Linked DNA regions of Homo sapiens: regions 1, 2, 4 and 5 are each linked to region 3. Evidence: promoter capture Hi-C in human tissues and cell types (Jung and others, 2019). All regions are on one chromosome and are shown on one strand. Each heading gives the region's core, a stretch centred on a gene start or on the middle of the fragment in contact. The rest is flanking DNA. Distances are from core to core; before and after follow the strand shown. Region 1 overlaps KCNJ6 (potassium inwardly rectifying channel subfamily J member 6). Region 2 overlaps KCNJ6 (potassium inwardly rectifying channel subfamily J member 6). Region 3 holds the start of KCNJ6 (potassium inwardly rectifying channel subfamily J member 6). Region 4 has its middle 98 kb from the start of DSCR4. Region 5 overlaps KCNJ6 (potassium inwardly rectifying channel subfamily J member 6).

The links. The method cuts DNA at HindIII sites, captures the fragments that hold promoters and counts their contacts. A contact is called where the count stands out against the background at its distance.
Region 1: a contact is called between a fragment that was not itself captured here and the fragment with the promoter of KCNJ6 in region 3, in 5 of the 25 tissues and cell types used here (dorsolateral prefrontal cortex, heart right ventricle, mesenchymal stem cells and 2 more).
Region 2: a fragment that was not itself captured here is called in contact with the fragment with the promoter of KCNJ6 in region 3 in 2 of the 25 tissues and cell types used here (dorsolateral prefrontal cortex and mesenchymal stem cells).
Region 4: a contact is called between a fragment that was not itself captured here and the fragment with the promoter of KCNJ6 in region 3, in 4 of the 25 tissues and cell types used here (bladder, heart right ventricle, mesendoderm cells and 1 more).
Region 5: a fragment that was not itself captured here is called in contact with the fragment with the promoter of KCNJ6 in region 3 in 9 of the 25 tissues and cell types used here (H1 embryonic stem cells, IMR-90 fibroblasts, dorsolateral prefrontal cortex and 6 more).

What each region holds. Positions count from the first base shown.
Region 1 is chr21:37,819,698-37,823,314 of GRCh38, forward strand. All of the region lies in intron 2 of KCNJ6 (potassium inwardly rectifying channel subfamily J member 6), which reads right to left. Among named protein-coding and RNA genes, the nearest start is that of KCNJ6, 95 kb to the right of the region's middle. The HindIII fragment of the contact is 9,746 bases long and covers 1-3,617 here.
Region 2 is chr21:37,845,332-37,848,630 of GRCh38, forward strand. All of the region lies in intron 1 of KCNJ6 (potassium inwardly rectifying channel subfamily J member 6), which reads right to left. Among named protein-coding and RNA genes, the nearest start is that of KCNJ6, 69 kb to the right of the region's middle. The HindIII fragment of the contact is 4,909 bases long and covers 1-3,299 here.
Region 3 is chr21:37,914,702-37,918,395 of GRCh38, forward strand. It overlaps KCNJ6 (potassium inwardly rectifying channel subfamily J member 6), which reads right to left and starts at 1,756. Exons shown (of 4, transcript NM_002240.5): 1 at 1,183-1,756. The HindIII fragment of the contact is 8,322 bases long and covers 1-3,694 here.
Region 4 is chr21:38,022,118-38,025,427 of GRCh38, forward strand. No RefSeq gene overlaps it. Among named protein-coding and RNA genes, the nearest start is that of DSCR4, 98 kb to the right of the region's middle. The HindIII fragment of the contact is 3,153 bases long and covers 476-3,310 here.
Region 5 is chr21:37,803,467-37,806,755 of GRCh38, forward strand. All of the region lies in intron 2 of KCNJ6 (potassium inwardly rectifying channel subfamily J member 6), which reads right to left. Among named protein-coding and RNA genes, the nearest start is that of KCNJ6, 110 kb to the right of the region's middle. The HindIII fragment of the contact is 5,208 bases long and covers 1-3,289 here.

The DNA of each region.
Region 1 (3,617 bases), core at 994-3,493, 95 kb before region 3:
GCTCTTACTGTTTATTTTCATTATAGATTAACTCCTCTCTTACTTCTGTCATGCAAAGACTTCATGGCTATCACATTGTCTAAGATGGAATGTTAAATACACTTTTTTTTTTTTGAGATGGAGTTTCACTCCTTGGAATGCAATGGCACAATTTTGGGTCATTGCAACCTCTGCCCCCTGTGTTCAAACTGATTCTCCTGCCTCAGCCTCCTGAGTAGATGGGATTACAGGCGCTCATCACCACACCTGGCTAATTTTTTTTGTATTTTTGGTAGAGTCGGGGTTTCACCATGTTGGTCAGGCTGGTCTCGAACTCCTGAGCTCAGGTGATCCACCCGCCTCAGCCTCCCAAAGTGCTGGGATTACAGATGTGAACCACTGTGCCTGGCCCACTCTTTTAAATTGGAAAGGAACTAAAAAGCTGTATGGAAAAGAAAACAAACTGCAACTAATTACACGGTTGTAACTCACAGAAAATGTAATCTGATTACATTTCTTTGTTTTCTTCCTATATAAGCAAGATCTTAACTTTTAACTTTGAAGCGCTGACCCATTTATGTGGAGTCTCTTTTCCGGATGGCTACTCCCAGCTTTTTGCTTGAATAAACTCTTTAAAACTGTATTCTGATTCTTTTTAATTGTTTCGGATTGATCTGTTGAAGTACATGTTCCTGCTCAAAGCTGGGTGTGCTGCAATTCAATTCTGACACTAACCACCTGGAGTTAGACTTCACAGATTAGGGACTCTGTCCTGGAAGCCACAGATTTACTATGGATTTGCTGTGTGTCTGCCATTTTGCACTGCATTTGGATGACACTGCTTCAGATGTCAGCAGCACATCGGGGATCCTAGGCTATCCTCACTTCTGACCTATGTTCTGATCAAACTTCCTGCTACGAATTCTGGGGTTCGTATGACCCATTCAGGTTCCATAATTTACTAGAATGACTAACAGAACTCAAGAAAGTGCCATGTCAATGTTATTAACCTTGTTCTTACTCCTCATCACTTTGGCAAACCCAAATATTCAGATAATTTGTTTCTTTTTGAAAGCTTATTATTATTTTATTTGCTTTTCTGAAGAGCTTAGGATATAAGAACTTAGGAGATACACTGACCAAAAACCATGAGGTATATGTTGGCAGCCCTTGAGGGATGTGCCTTGTTTTGACTAGTTGGATTTTCTTGTGAACAATGTCTTAAGTAGAAAATAACCCTCTGTGTTCAATATTATTTCTTGTTGAAAAACTTAAAAACGTTTTAGCTGGCTTTCCTGTCTTAAGAGAGTGTGACAGATACTAATCTTCTATTTAAAATGTTTCAGCTGGTTTTTCTATCTTAGGAGAGTGTGACAGATACTTATCTCCCATTAATGATGCTCATTCTTGCCATGTCTCCTCTTGCAAATATTATCACAACCACTGTTGCATGGTTTTGTGAAGGTGTGACTAAATTTGTTCTGACCCCAGTATAATAGCACATAATATGGAAAATAACTTTTTTATTTAGGTGAATTTCACATAACAAAAAATTGACAATTTTAACTTAAAGTAAACGTTACCTACATTGTTGCACAATGCTGTATAACCACTACCTCCATCTAGTTCCCATTTTCAACAACCCAAAAGGAAATCCTGTACTCACTTAGCAATTCTCTCCTTCAGAAGGCAATTTTTTTATTTCTTAATTTTTTAAAATTTAATTTTACATTCTAGGTTATCCATGAAGGACATGCAGGTTTGTTATATAGGTAAGCGTGTCATGGTGGTTTGCTGCACCTATCAACCCATCACCTAGGTATTAAGCCCCACATGCATTAGCTATTTATCCTGATGCTCTCCTTTCCCCTGCCCCCCCAACAGGCCCCAATGTGTGTTGTTTCCCTCCCTGTGTCCATGTGTTCCAGAAGGTAATTATTTTTAAATGAAATCTTTGTTATCAGTCGTCCACTTAACACCTACTTATGCCAACTGTGTTAGGGTACTTTATTTCTTTATCACTTTCTCATTTTTCCTAAATGTATTGTATATGGTTATAGGAAGACTTTAGTCTACTGGGTCTGGTTAATCAAATAGTAAATTCTACTCTATAAATAGAATCTATATCCTTTATTTTATCCAGAAAGAATGGCAGACACACAGCAAATCCTAGTAAATGCTGAATGACAGTTTTCCTGTAATGGTTTTGGATTAGAATTATATTGTCTAATGGTTGTATTATTTTAAAGATTTCTTTAGCAGGCATTAGTCATGACCAGCCAGAGACATGACTGCATATCTGAGTCAATGTGAAGATTCCACCAGAGGAGGATAATCAACACAGAGGAGCTGTCACACCTGTTTGTTAAAATAAGTATTTCTCACACTGCTTCAGGTGAGCCAGGTTGAACTGAACTGCAACCTGAAGCTACTATTCTCAGGTGAGCTAGCTTCCCAGAGTTGCTGTTTGGAGAGACAGATGTAATAACAATCTGGCTGCACGTGGAGGATGACAGGTCCCTTGTCATGCTAGGAGCTGGGGAGTGGCTTGCAGACACCATTTCACAATGAAGAGTGGGTCGTGGTTTGATAGGCACCTGTTGTCTATGGCCATACCACTCTGAACATGCCCAATCTCCTCTGATAGGCACCCATTCCTCGTGGATGGGGAAGGTGGGGGTGCTGCCAGGGCTGTGCCCAAGTGCCTGGTTCCATTTTTTCCCCCAACACCAGACAGCAGCCAATATCCCAGGACAGCTCTGGGGCTCCTACAAGCTGGGAGCTGTTCCTGAAAACCCACTCAGCTCTCTGCTCCTGAAGCCTCTGAATGGGTACGGGCTATTGTTTTATGCGGGAAATTATCTGTCAAAAGAAACGCCTTCTGTGTTCCTACTCAGCATTGAGAGGCATATTTTTGTTGAGAGGATGCTTTATATTGGGGTCTATGGCTTTGTTGGAGCCTGCTCACATAGACAAGTGAGTGGGAACTTCTCATAGACCTCTAATCTCTATGGATTCGATTTTGATTGTCTTTTGTGAGGATGTAAAACCCACTATTGGTCTCAGGTTCACTGAGGAAAAGAACCTATGGCTCTGTCAAGAAGCCATAGACTTAAATCACTTTTAATAAATATTTAGATTGGGTCTTATATGACAGCTCAGAATGTTTCAGTGGAATTGACACCAAAACGGGGGACTCGAGAGTGATGTCAGCAGGGGGTGGAATAAGACTTTTCAGTCCTCATTCCTTCATCGAAACATCACTTTGAACAACTTGTCATGCATGAAAATTCCTTCACAAGAGCTAAGGAAACCAGGCAAGAGACTATAGCACCAGGGGTTAGCACAGAAATAAGAAAGGACATGTTGAAGAGGGAGGGACAGATTCACATAACCTGTGTCACCCTCCCCTAAACCCGAGCAGCACAGCATGGAGAGAGATGGCAGGCAGGCCCCCAGCCCCAGTCTGCAGGCCAGCACCTGCCGAACCAGCCCCCACGGCCACCCCAACACCAGGCCAGAGCCCTCAGACTTAGGCTCTGGGCACACCTGAGGCTCCAGAAAAATGCTGCAATAAACATAGGATTTGGAAAAGAAGGAAATTCTGTCACTTGCAACAACATGGATGAACCTGGAGC
Region 2 (3,299 bases), core at 395-2,894, 69 kb before region 3:
GAAAATTTTTTGTTCTTGCTTATTGTGTCTATCCCACTTGGATGTTCGTAGAGAGAGTGGCGGGGAGAGAGAGAAAGAGAGCACATGTATAAGAGTTTGGAAGCCTGGGTCTAGAAAGGTTTTTGTCATGGTTTTACCACTTCTTATTCACTCATTAACTAATCTTGGAAGCTCTAATTTTCTCATCTGTGAAGTGGGGATAGGTGGAATTTGCACTGCCTGATTCACAGGACTGTTTGAGGAACAAATGAGACAATGTATATAAATACAGTCAAGTGTAATGTCCATGTGTGGGTTTGTAATCATTATTCCGTTTGGCTACTGTGTGGGGACCCAGAGTTAGAACCTGTTCTTGCTATTTGAGGACAAATATTGACCTCTAGCATTTGTGCCAAAAATAACAAAGCAAATTTCCCTGAAATTAGCCAGACCCATGGCTGCCAGCCCCTCAGGGAACTACTCGTCAACAGCTGGTGACTATGCAACCCACACCTGTATTTCCACACCCCTGCTCCAGAATATAAGGTCTGCAGAACCTAGGCACACTGCTTGGAAGAGCTATGCTATTTTGCTCTAGGAGGCACTCCACTTAAAGTCGTATTGTTGTACATTTAATAAAAGGCATTCATAGACACATCAAACGTTTGGGGTAATCATGATGATATATTTGAGTAAAACATGTTCACAGATGCTGAAAAAAAAACAACGTTAAGTGTCTTGTTTAAATCATAAACTCCTCGGGTAGAGCATTGACTTTCAGGGGCAATGGGCATTTAATTTTCTGTCTGAACTTTATTCCCTCTTCCACACCTGGGGAAGTAAATAAAGGCTCAGCAACTTGCTTGTGGGGGTGTGTGTGTAATTTATACTCCCACATCTGTTTCAGCTAAAGAGAGTATGGCTTTCTACTGAGTCCATGCCAGCTACATACTTCTCTTTGAGTGTCTAAAATGACAGAGGTGTTTTTAATGAGGGCAATTATAACAGTCTGACTTTAGCTCAGAGCTAAGGCTGAGACACTCTGTGTGTGTGTGTGTGTGTGTGTGTGTGTGTGTGTGTGTGTGTGTGTGTGTGAGGGAGAGAGGAGGATGGGGAAGAGGAGATTGATTCATGAATGCAGAGTATCTAGAAAGGGTAGAAAGGGTTTTTTTCTGCTGCATGGGGCTCCCTCAGACAGAGGACAGGAGCTGGCAGAACCCAGTGAGGTCTGCATTTTCGGTGGTGCTGCCTTGCTTTCTGCTACCCAGAAGTAGGCTTTTAAGGATGAGGGGGAAACTCATCATGGTTGATATATTTCAAACCGGTTATATTTGCATCTCAGATATTTTTATCTCTCTAAAATGTGTGCTTGTATTCATCAGAAAACTGTGATTTTTTTCCCAAAATACAACCATTTAAAGAAACATTTATGCAAAGTAGGAAACGATAAAGCCATTTTATGAACTTAGTATCCTCAACAGGGCCTCACCTCTGGTTAAACCAGGAGCCCTCAAATCTCCCGCCCTGTTCTTCAGGTTCTCAACAAATGCACCAGCCCTGGCCCCTCCTCACCTTCCCCCCTCCTCTTCCCTGACACGGTGCCATGGCAGGTCACCTGAGGACTGATTTAAATGGAAAATGCCACATCCTCAGATAGCCAAGCAAGTGAGTGTTCTCTTAGTACAGCATCATTTATGTTGCCTTGAGTTGCTGCCGAAAAATATAGGCCACAGCATTTAAGAATCACTAATTAGTTTTTTGCCTAATGAAAAACAAATGGAAATGAGTAGTCGGTATGCAAGTATGGTTTGGGGCAATATAAATATAAAATACATAAAAATATAATATGAAAATATATAAAAATAGTAACTCCTAATGTTTACTTCACATTTATTATAGCCTGTCACTGCATTAGTACATTAGACTATCTCCTTAATTCTCACAAGGACCCTGTGAAATGGTACTGTCTTCTCTACTTTGAGGATGGGGAAACTGAGGCACAGAGAGGTTCAGCAGATCATGCCAGATCACACGGCTGGTGAGGAGTAGAGTTGAGCATGAAACCCAACAAGTCTTCTTTCTGCACCTGCACTCTCTCAGCCACGGTGCCACCTGCAACCCTAGGAACTGGTGAGAAGTCCTAGAAATGAAGGCCGTTCATGCTGAAGGCAGCAGTGAGAATCCAGGTCTAAGATCCTTCTTCAATCATCCGATGCTGAAAATTTATTGATGTGCACAAGATGGACACTGGATAGAAGAGGACATCCAGGTAAAGCCAGCTTTACACCTGCCTTCAGAGAGCTTCCAGTTTGGTCCAGAAGGCAAGATGTGTAGAGAAATAGCTGCAATATGTGGTATCAAGGGTAAAACACCAGAAGGGTTCTACAGGACATCGATAGAAAGAGGAACAGAGGGAGCAAAGAGAAAGGGAGAGACAGAGAGAGAGAGGGAGAGAGAGAGGAGAGAAGGGAGGGGGAGAAGGAGGGGGAGAAACAGAATAGAGACAGAGAATGAGACTGGAGAAAATGTAGTTCTAACTCACAGAACCAGGGTGTGCCTCACGGAGGAAGCAGCTTCAAGGTGTGAAGGAGGGGAAGAAGAGTGATGGGAGAGGGGAGGGCAAGGAAGAATACTCCAGATGGAGAAATGGCATGAGGAAAGGTGGGGAAGCTTGGTGCGTGAGGAGCAGCAGGTCACAGGGGGACCAAGGCTTGGTGTGAGAAGAAGAGCAGGAGGCTGGCATGGACAATGAGGACATAAGCCCTGGAGGTCCCTGGAGGCCAGACAGCTGCTCAGGAGGGAGGCCAGGGCTGGAGTTGTGGCAAACCAGTGGGAGGAGGAAGGTGCCTGTGTGAAGACCGTGGCAACCCACGCTGGTGAGCCAAGGAAGATGGTGGGAGATGTGGAGGCAAAACCCAATGAGTGTGCTCTCCTGTGAGCCCGGGGACTAGCAGATTTGAAGAGTAAAGAACTTGCCTATCAGGATGGGGTACCATTTTTTTAGAGTAAAGTTAGTTTTCACCACTGATATACTCAGTTAAAGTTTCTAAAATAATCTGAAATTTTCACAATTTGGGGTAAAAACATCTGTGGGGTGTGCTCGAAGGAGGTGACATTTTTGCTAGGCAGGCCATGTAGGATGCTTTAGGTGAGAAAGCCCTCTTTGCAATAAGGCTCAGAGCCTTAGCCTCACCAGATAGCCTTTCTAAGGTCCCTATGTACAGGTCACCCTGACTGGTTCCTTATGCTGCCACCATTGTGGTCTTGTTGACCAGACCAGGGAGGGTCCTAATACACTGAGTTATGAGGATATCTCACAA
Region 3 (3,694 bases), core at 506-3,005:
GCCCTTTTTTCTCCCTAAGCAGTTCCTGGGCATCACCCTTTTCCGTTTCTTTTTTTCAGCAAAAGAAAGGCAGGCAGGGAACAGGGCTAGCAGGATGTGGCATTGCTCCCTGTACCGTAGGGCTCCCCGGGACCGACAGACTTTGGATAACAGCAGTTGGGAAACACTCTAAACATATAATACATCTCCAACTCCCAAACACTGGAGTTGTGGGGTTTTTTTTTTTTTCTCTTCCTTTTTTTGGGGGTTGGAGGCGGAATTCTTTGGAAAATTCTGGTATTTTGTTTCTCCACTAACCTCACCCTCTGTGGCTGTTTCTATTAAGATATATTTTCCCCCTGACAATCTCTCCATATTGCACCTAGTACAACAGATGTACCTGTGGATCCACTGGGCTTTTATTGGGTTTTGGGAATACTGATGTTATTTCACTTAAAAACTAATCCAAGCTTAATGTTTTGATGAAAATGAAAATATATCCACAGGGAAGCAAATATCCACAGCCACCCAGTCCTCTAAATGCCACACACATCTCATTTTATCTAAAGTGTTTTTTCTTCCCTTCCAATTACAAAATAATTCAGTTTACTCCTAGGAAGATCTTCCTATTCACTGTTTTTAGTCATGCTAGCACATCTTCGGTTTTAAGGATAGAGAACAGTTAGGAGTTACAGTATTCTGTTTCCCATTCTCCGCATGTTTCTCCCCAACCCTCACTTTTCCTCCCTTTCGTGTTGTCTCCTCTCCTCTCCATGCAAAGCAGAACAAGAAGACTGCCTTCCACAAAGACAATAGGCTTTTCCCAACTGTAAATGACTACATCACAAGCCGCACCTGTCAGTTAATCAGTGCATTTAAGTCTTTGCCAGCGGATGTTGAAATGATGTCTGCAATAACTGACTGGGTTTCTGCGAGCCCAGGGATGCAGACCCCTCCTTCCCCCGCCCCCCGTGCGAGTTTCAGTCGCTAATGAAAACCGTATGAAACAGATTCCCCTTCTGTTATGTAACCGGCTTCTCCCTCGCCTTTCGGCTGACTTGGGCACAATGTTTCTCATGAGAGTGGAGATGCCTGCGGCGACGGCGGAGCTGGGGAAGGGGACGCGGGGACCCGAGAGCACGGAACGCCTCGCCCAGGTGGACGCCAGCTCCTCGCCTGCGAGCAGCTCAGCGCACCGCTTACCTGGCTGCGGACGGGGTGGCTTCACTCAATCATGATCTCCTCTCTTGAAACGGAGCAAGACTGAACAATTCACTACACGACGGATGGCGAGGGAAGGAAATGCAAAAAAGAAAAGGAAAAGAAAAAAACTGGAATCAGATGGTCAAATTTCACATCAGCACCGAGAGGCTGTTAGGAGACTCCATTCTGCTCGCGGCTGCTCCGGCTCCAGGTCCGGCTTCCCGGCGTCCGCGGGTCTCCACCCCTCCGCCCGCCCAGCCTCTCCAGCCAGGTGCGGCCGTCTCCGGACTGGCTCCCTCTGGCCGAGCGCGGAGAGCAGGGCTGGGCGCTGGGGCCAAGGGAGGGGCGGAGGGGCGCGCGTTTGGGCAGGGACGGGGGAGGGAGACTGGGTGGAATGAAGTGGGGAAAGATAAGAGTGGCAGAAGAAAAAAAAAATCCCCGGTTAGGAGAAAAGTGGTGGACCACGCAGAGAGACGTCATGAAATCCGCAGATTCAATGAATGCTACTCAATTCCAGCCGACTGGCTGAGCCCCGCTGGCAGCGCACGAAGCGACGCGGCTCCGAGATAAAAGCGAGTGCAGCGCCGCGTGCTGGGGAAAAAGCCGCACAGCGCCGGCGCGGTCCGGGAGGAAGGGGCGGGGGCGAGCAGGACAGAGCCACAGACCCAGAGACGCCCACCCCGCCGCCCATGCCAGCTAGCGTGTCAGCGCGTCGAGGACCGGGCTTGGTGGGGGCGGGCTGGGCACAAACCAACGTGCATCCCCCGCCACTGGAAACGTGGGTGCTCCATGCTGGGGGAATCTTTTGGGTTTCGGTCCCCGACCCCCCAGTCCCAACCTTTCTCCCAGTGCCACTAAGTAAGTTATTCCCGGAGAAACGCCTGGAAAGCAGGAAAGAGCCGAAGCTCGGGGAGCAGTTTTGTCTGCTGGTTGTAGGGGTTCGGCTTTTAGGGTTTTGTGAGATAAGGAAAAAGAGGCTCTGGGCACTGCCTCCCACCGGGCTGAAATCCGTGAGAGGCAGCCCCGGCGCGGGAGCCGGAGCCTGCACCGCCCAGAGGGGGCGCAGCGAGCGGCCGGGACGGAGGGGAGGGGCCCTATCCCTGAGCTTTGCTTGCACCTGGTGGCGCCCCAGCCTGCTGCCCCATTCAGTCCCTTCTGTCCTGTCCACTGCAACTGGGACCTGGTCCCGGCTGCTGCATCATCACCCCATCCTTATATGATGTCTCTGGGGTCACTGGAGACAAAGAATGGCCTTTTCCAAGAATGACCCAGGCTGCCTTCAAAGTTGAATTTGTCAGGATAAGCCCCTTAGACAAAGGTCTACTCCACTCTTTGAATCTAACTTGCTTTGTGCTGTTATTCCAGGGGCCCCTCATAGTGCTCCCCTCTTGCACCCCCTCTTTTTCTTATGGTCATCAAAAACAATGGTTCTACATTTCCAAAGTCTTCCCATAAATTGCTTCTACCTATGAACAGAACTCTCTTTTATGCTGTCTTTTTCCTAGGGATGAATGGATTGACAAATTGTAAGAGTAGCGAATACCATTGGCTAGTAATTTTATAATGGCCCTTTCAATAACTGGCTATTCTTGTGCTGCTTTATGAAGTGGCTTTCCTTCCACAAGGCACAGAATCTCTACCTCAAAGAAGGTGACCTTATTTTAGAGAGAAGGCTTACGGAAACCTCTTATTTCCAAGATTATTTTATTCTACATACATACATTTTAATTACCTAGCAATTCAGGTCCCCTCAAGAATGCTGTCTGCCCTCTAAAAATGACTGTAATATGGAGAGGTGTTTGTGTCAATTTGCATCCAAAGTCATGTAAAAGTCAACCGTACACACGGCCTGTGAGCTTGTATTTGCTGTTGATTTTCCCTAAGAGGTTGTAATCTGACTTGCTATTACTTCTGAGTCATATATCCCATATACAGAAGATATGAGTATGTGTAATATCTGTAGTATGTGTAATACGTGCTCCACAATGCCTGCTGGATCTAGTGATAGTGTTACAAATAAACAAAGAACAACTGAACCAAATAATCCCTGAGAGACCAGGAATACAAATGCAAGATGCAGGATTTCGGTGGACACAGCCTTAGAACATTAAAAGAACAACCCATGTTGACTATAGTTGTGTAAAGGGCATTCTGTTTAATCTGTGAAGCTGCTATGGGTATGCCTGCTAATTTTGATGATATATACTTTTACCAGTAGAATGATTTCACAAAGTATCTTTCTTACAAGATATTAGACTAAATAAGAAAGTCAAGAGTTGGAAGTAACCTATTTGTCTCCTTCAAATACTTTGAAAACTCCCCTACTTGAAACAGCTGCCGGGGTGATGTGGGCAATAGCACTTTGTGAATGGCATAAGAGCACGTGTTGAATGAGATGGATCCCATTAACACAGCCTGGGATTTGATAAACACCAGAGACAAGAGCAATTGGCTTAACTGAATTCATTCATTTATTCCGTAGAGTTCTGATAAAGTGATCTGCATGGGTGTA
Region 4 (3,310 bases), core at 802-3,301, 110 kb after region 3:
TGGAGAAATTGAAATGCTTGTGCAGTGTTGGTGGAAATGTTAAATGGTGCAGCTGCTATGGAAAATGTATGAGGTTTCCCCTAAAAATTAAAAATAAAATTACCATATAATCTAGCAATTCCACTTCTGGATATATAATGAATATAATTGAAAACAGGATGTCAGTGAGATATGTGCTTGCCCATGTTCATAGCAGCAATATTCCAAGTAGCCAAGAGGTGAAAGCAATGCCAGTGTCCACTGATGGATGCATGGATAAACAAGATGTGGTATATCCATACAATGAAATATTGTTTAGCCTTAAAAAGGAGGAAAATTCTAATACATCCTACAACATTAATAAACCTTGAGGACATTATACTAAGTTAAATAAGCCAGTCATAAACAGACAAATACTATATAAGTTCACTTATGTGGGGTATCTAAGGTAGTCGAATTCATAAAACCAGAAAGTAGAATGGGGCTGTGGGGGTGGTGATGGGGGAATGGGGAGTTGTTCAATGGGCAAAGAGTTTTAGTCTTGCAAGATGAGAAGTTCTGGGGATTTGTCTCACAACAATGTGAATATACTTAACATGACTGAATTGTGCACTTGGAAATGGTTAACACTGTAAATTATGTTATGTACGTTTTACTAAATAAAAAAGAAATAAGACGGGCTGGGCGCGATGGCTCACGCCTGTAATCCCAGCACTTTGGGAGGCTGATGTGGGTGGATCATGAGGTCAGGAGATCAAGACCATCCTGGCTAACATAGTGAAACCCTGTCTCTACTAAAAGTACAAAAAATTAGTTGGGCGTGGTGGCATGCACTTATAGTCCCAGCTACTCAGGAGGCTGAAGCAGGAGAATCACTTGAACCCAGGAGGCGGAGGTTGCAGTGAGCCAAGATTGTGCCACTGCACTCCAGCCTGGGTGACAGAGCGAGACTCCGTCTCAACAAAAAAAAAAAAAAAGAAAGGAAGAAAGAAAGAAATAAGACAAATGTAAACAAAACAAGAAAAACACTGACCTGCTACACTGGGGTTCTTTGATAGAAAAGTCTGAAAATATGAGATGTTACAAGTGGATGGCTTCCTAATTCCAAGTAGAAACACTCAGATGTGTACCGTGGAAGTCAGAAAGTCAATGAGATAAACAGACTTCACAAACAAGTTTAAAAAGAGTTGGTGGCGTGAATGTCACTGGCGAAGATTTTACAACTAGCAGTCTTCGTCTGTCGCCTGGCTTTCACAGAACTTAAAAAAAGCCTCATAATTTAAGTTTGACTTGTCTCTTCGATCACTGTTACCGTGTTCTTTATAGTAAATGTAGTCAGGATTCTTTTGTACCCTAACTAGGGCAAGTTTGTTTTTGGAATAAATGCAGCCCTCAAAATACAGAAGAACTCTGTTCCAGAAAAATTTATTTCTAGGTCAGTTGAATACAAGTTTGAACTCATTTGTAGTTGAAAACAACGCTAGAAATAGTCTTTAAGTTATTAGATGTGTACACAAATCTTACAACATAAAAGTGCTTAAGATGAATTTCACTCACAGCCAGTGACCACTTCTAACAGCAGAACTTTTTGCAGTTCGGAGAAGGAGACCTGAGACACATTTACCCTTCCTCAACCACCCAGAGGGGATTGTTTGTTAGGAGGCTGCCAAGGTATAGCCCAGGGGGTTGGAGATGACCTGATGTCATGCTGCCTCCAGCACAGTTGGATTTTGGTCCTTGGCTTTTCCCTAGTGTCATTAAACACATCCCCTAAGAAAAATGCTCACTCTTTGGCCTTTGGTCATCACTGATGAGTTCTAGATCTCTCTATCAGAAGTCTACAGGCATCATAATTAGCTAGAAAGGGTTCTAAGCCTAAGACTCCTCCCTCTTTCTAGGATTCTGTTCAATGCAGTGTAGCCATGAAGATTCTCTCTTTCAAAAGAGACCTCACTATTCTGTCAATGGCTGGGCAAGTGCCCAAAGCCTACCCAAATGGAAGGCTTCTGAGAAGCCTGGGTGGAGAACACAGATTTGCCCAGTGCTCAGAGCTTCTGTGGGAGGCTGAATAATGCCTCCCCGAAGATAGCCATGTCCTAATCCCTGAAATCTGTGAATGTTACCTTGTGGCATAAAAAAAGGATCTTTACAGATGTAATTAAGAATCTTGAGATGGGCAGAGTCTCCTGGATGACCAAGTGAGTCCTAGTCCTAAGTACAATCACATGTACTCTTTGTAACAGGGAGGCAGAGGGAGATTTGGTAACACTCAGAGGAGAAGGTGACTTGAAGGGAGAGCAAAGAGAGGTTGGAAGACTCTGGCCTTGAAGACAAGAGATTAGAAGATAGCATCCCCACAAGTCAAGGGATGATGGCAGCCACCAAAGGGTTTCCTGTTGACACCTCGATTATAGTCCAGTGATTCTAATTTCTGGCCTCCAGAACTGTGGGAGAATGAACTGCGATTGCCTGAAGGCAGCAAGTTTGTGGTCATTTGTTATAGCAGCCACAGGACATGAATACAGCCCCCATCTGCCACCTGCATCCATCCTTGGCACTCTGGTGCATGTGCTCCGAGCCAAGTATTACCCACGTGGCTGGCTGCAAGGAGACAGAAAGCAAGGACAGGCTGTGATACCTGAGCAGGAAGAAGGACAACAGGGAAACAGAAGACCTATTGCACTGATGAGAAGGAGAAGGGAGAGACCTGCCTTTACAGCACAATGTATTAAAATATGACACCATGAATTCCAGGTTTCCACACCGTCTCCCTTCAGGGAGAAGGAGCAGAATAGTAACAAGGAATTGAAATCTTGTGTACCAGACGATCCCATCACTGCCTTTACCACCTCCCATGGACACATTATGGACAAAGGGAGCTTGGGGCACAAATAGTCCTCCTTTCTCAAGCTTTATCTTGTCCTAAATTGATCTCATTATCTCCCTTGTTCTGTCTCTACCCCTCTCAACTTATGCTGCCTTCCGTGCCCCCACTTTAGTTTATAGCATCATCATCATCTGCCCTATATGTACCCAAGAGAAGTGGGACCACCCTGACTCCCCTTTTTTCCATCCTGCCCCATATCTCATTAGAAATGTAAGCCCTTTGTATTATCCACTGAACATATTTCATTGATAATTTTTCCTTTTTCATTCTCATTGTCAGTCCCTAATTGAAGTCCTCTTTCACAGGAGCTTCACCATATCCCAGTCCGATCCCACTACTTCCCTGATGGAAACCCTTCAGTGGGCTCCTGGCATGTTTCCCAGAAGGTCCCAGATCTCTGGCATCACTCTCTGTGGTTTGAACTTGCTTTCTTTCAAGATTCAC
Region 5 (3,289 bases), core at 643-3,142, 110 kb before region 3:
CCAGAATCATAATTAGAGCATTTATCATAATTCCTGACACTCTAATTGGCTTAAAAGTCTCTTCTTAGGACAGTGTTGGACAGTATTTCACCGTAGGAATTTGCTTTTCCAGGTGATTTTGTAGCAGACGTCACCACTGTCACTGACCATTATTCCCTCAAATTGGCAGAGAAGTGCCCTCCTCCCTGCCCCACTGGGGTCCATGGTGGGCACACACCAGCAGGCAAAACGATGAGGAAGTGCTGTCCTATTTGCTTCAAATTAAAATGAACACACGACACCTACCTTCCACATGAAGAAATAACACTATCTTCCCTACGTCTGTTTCTCTCTTGGCATGACTCCATCTGAGTTGGGCTCACCTTTTGACTGTGTCCTCACCATCTCACTCCTTCATGGGACCAGGGACACTGGATAGAGGGGAGGGCTCACAGAAGGGGCGTCCTTTTGGGGAAAGCTTTTGCTGATGTTGCCTGCCCTTCGCTTCTATCCAAGTCTCCCACTTTGAATTTTATTTCTGAGCTCAAAATCCCTGTGAGCAAAAATACTCTGCCCCCAGTTAAAAAAATGGGGAAAGGATTTTAATAGACATTTCTTCAAAGGAGATATTAAAATCTGCCATGAGCACCAGAAAAGATGCATCGTTAGTCACTAGGGAAGTGCAAATCAAAACCACTTTCACACCCACTAGGATGACTCTAATCAGAAAGACAGATAATAACAAGTGTTGACAAGGATGTGGGGAAATTGCAACACTCATTGTTTGTAGGATTGTAAAATGGTGCAGCTTCTGTGGAAAACAGGTTGGCAGTTCCTCAAAAGGTTAAACATTGAATTACCACATGACCCAGCAGTTCCACTCCTAGGTGCATACCCCCCAAAATTAAAAACCTATGTCCACACAAAAATTACTATGTGGATATTCATAGCACTACTATTCTTTTTTAATTTTTATTTTATTTAACTTTATTTTAATTTCAGGGGTACGTGTGCAGGTTTTTTATACAGGTAAACTTGTGTCATGGGGGTTTGTTGTACAGATTATTTCATCACTCAGGTATTAAGCCTAGTACCCATTAGTTATTTTTCCTGATCTTCTCCCTCCTCCCATCCTCCACCCTCTAATAGGCTCCAGTAGAGGTTGTTCCCCTCTGTGTGTCCATGTATTATCATTTAGCTCCCCCTTATAAGTGAGAACATGCGGTATTTGGTTTTCTGTTCCTGCATTAGCTTGGTAAGGATAATGGCCTACAGCTCCATCCATGTTCCTGCAAAGGATATGGTCTCATTATTTTTTATGGCTTTATAGTATTCCATGGTGTATATGTACCACATTTTCTTTACCCAGTCTATCATTGATGGGCATTGTTGAGTCTATGTCTTTACTATAGTGAGTAGGCACTACTATTCACAACAGCCAAAAAAGTGGAAACAACCAAACTGATGAATGGATAATTATGATGTGGTACAATGGAATATTATTTAGCTATAAAAAGGAATGAACATGGATGAACCTTGATAACATTATGCTAAATAAAAGAAACTAGACACAACAGACCATCTATTGTGCAAGTCTATTTATATGAAATATTCACAACAGGAAATCCATAGAGACAGAAAAGAGATAAGGGATTGCCAGGAAAGGGGGCAGGTGGAATGACTGCTAATAAAGACAGAGTTTCTTTTTGGGGTGATAGAAATGTTCTGGCATTAGATTGTGGTGATGGTTGCATGAATTTGTGAAGACACCAAAACACACTGAATTGTATACTTTACAAGTGTGAATTTTGCGATATGTGAATTATATTTCAATGAAAATAATTGTATGAGAAAAATATCACTTCTGGGGAGTGATACTGGGGTTCCAAGGTGGTCCTGTCTTCTGCTTGAATCTTAAATTGTATTATTTTAGTAAAGATGATGATAAAAATAAAAAAAATACGCTCTGTCAATCTGAGCTGCCTCTTCCTTCCCCATTTGGCGTTTGGTGTTATCACTTCCTGAGCAGCTGGGACAAGGGTCTCTTGCTACCCTTTGCATCCTGAATTTTATTTCTTTGCTCTCTGAGCCTGCCTTTCTGGCCATGAGCCCCCTGAAGTCCCTGCTGTGTTCCCTTCTTGTTTATTGATTTGTGTTACCAAAAGGATGTGACTTTATTTGAAATAAGGCATTTGCAGAAGTGATCAAATTAAGATGAGTTCGGACTAGATTAAGGAGTGTCTTAATCCAATGACTGGTGTACTTATGAGAAGAGGTAAATTTGGACACAGAGAAAGGCACAGAGGGATGATAATGTGAAGACACACAGGCAGATGTGTGGTGTGTGATGACAGTGGCAGAGCTGCAGTGATGCGTCTGCAAGCCAAGGAATGCCAAGGATCTCTGTCAACCACGAGGAGTCGGAAGAGGCCAGGAAGGACACTCCCCTAGAGCCTTCAGCGACAGCATGACCCTGTTGACATCTGAATTACAAACTTCTGGCCTCCAGACCTGCAAGTGAATAAATTTCTGTTGTTTTAAGTGCCCACTTTGTGATAGTTTGTTGCAGTCACCCTAGGAAACTAATATAGCGTTCTAACATGAAATCTGGCACACGGAAGCCCAAACATGTTTGTTGAGTGAATTACTCTTCTGCTTCTATGTGATCTGTGATGGCTGACATGGAAAGAAGCCCCAGCAACTGGCTGATAAAAAATGGAATAGTTAGTTCCTGCTTTTACAAGTGAGAACTTCAGCAAGAGATGAAGTTGTTTACCCCAGGTAGATAGCGGATGGGGACTGAGGATTTACTTCAGATATTTCAACTCTGAGTTAATGAAAGGAGATAGGAAAGAGAAATGAGCCTCTTCGAGAGCCTACTATGAGTCAGGCACTGTGTATGTGGTATAATTTATTTCTCTCAAGGACCCTATGTTATGAGCATTCTTATCCACATTTCTGCAAAATAGACAATTGGCATGAAAACAGAGATGGGCCTCTGGACCTTGGATGTCCAAGGTCACGTAGTAAATAGCAAAGCCAGAATTCCCCCCTCCCCGGGTCTTTATGATTGTAAGGTCTTCCTCCCCTTGATCATGCTGAGGAGATTTATTGATCAGACAGCTTTCAAATATCAGGAGGACGTTTCAAGTTTATTTGGCAAGTGATCAGGATCTACTTACCTTACAAACTCAAGTTGTGAATGAAAAATTCATTATCTCCATTTTCTAGTCATTAACTATACAATCCTGATCTAAATTCACAAATATAAACATTTTCTGTGATCAATAGAACAACGATAATATTTTAA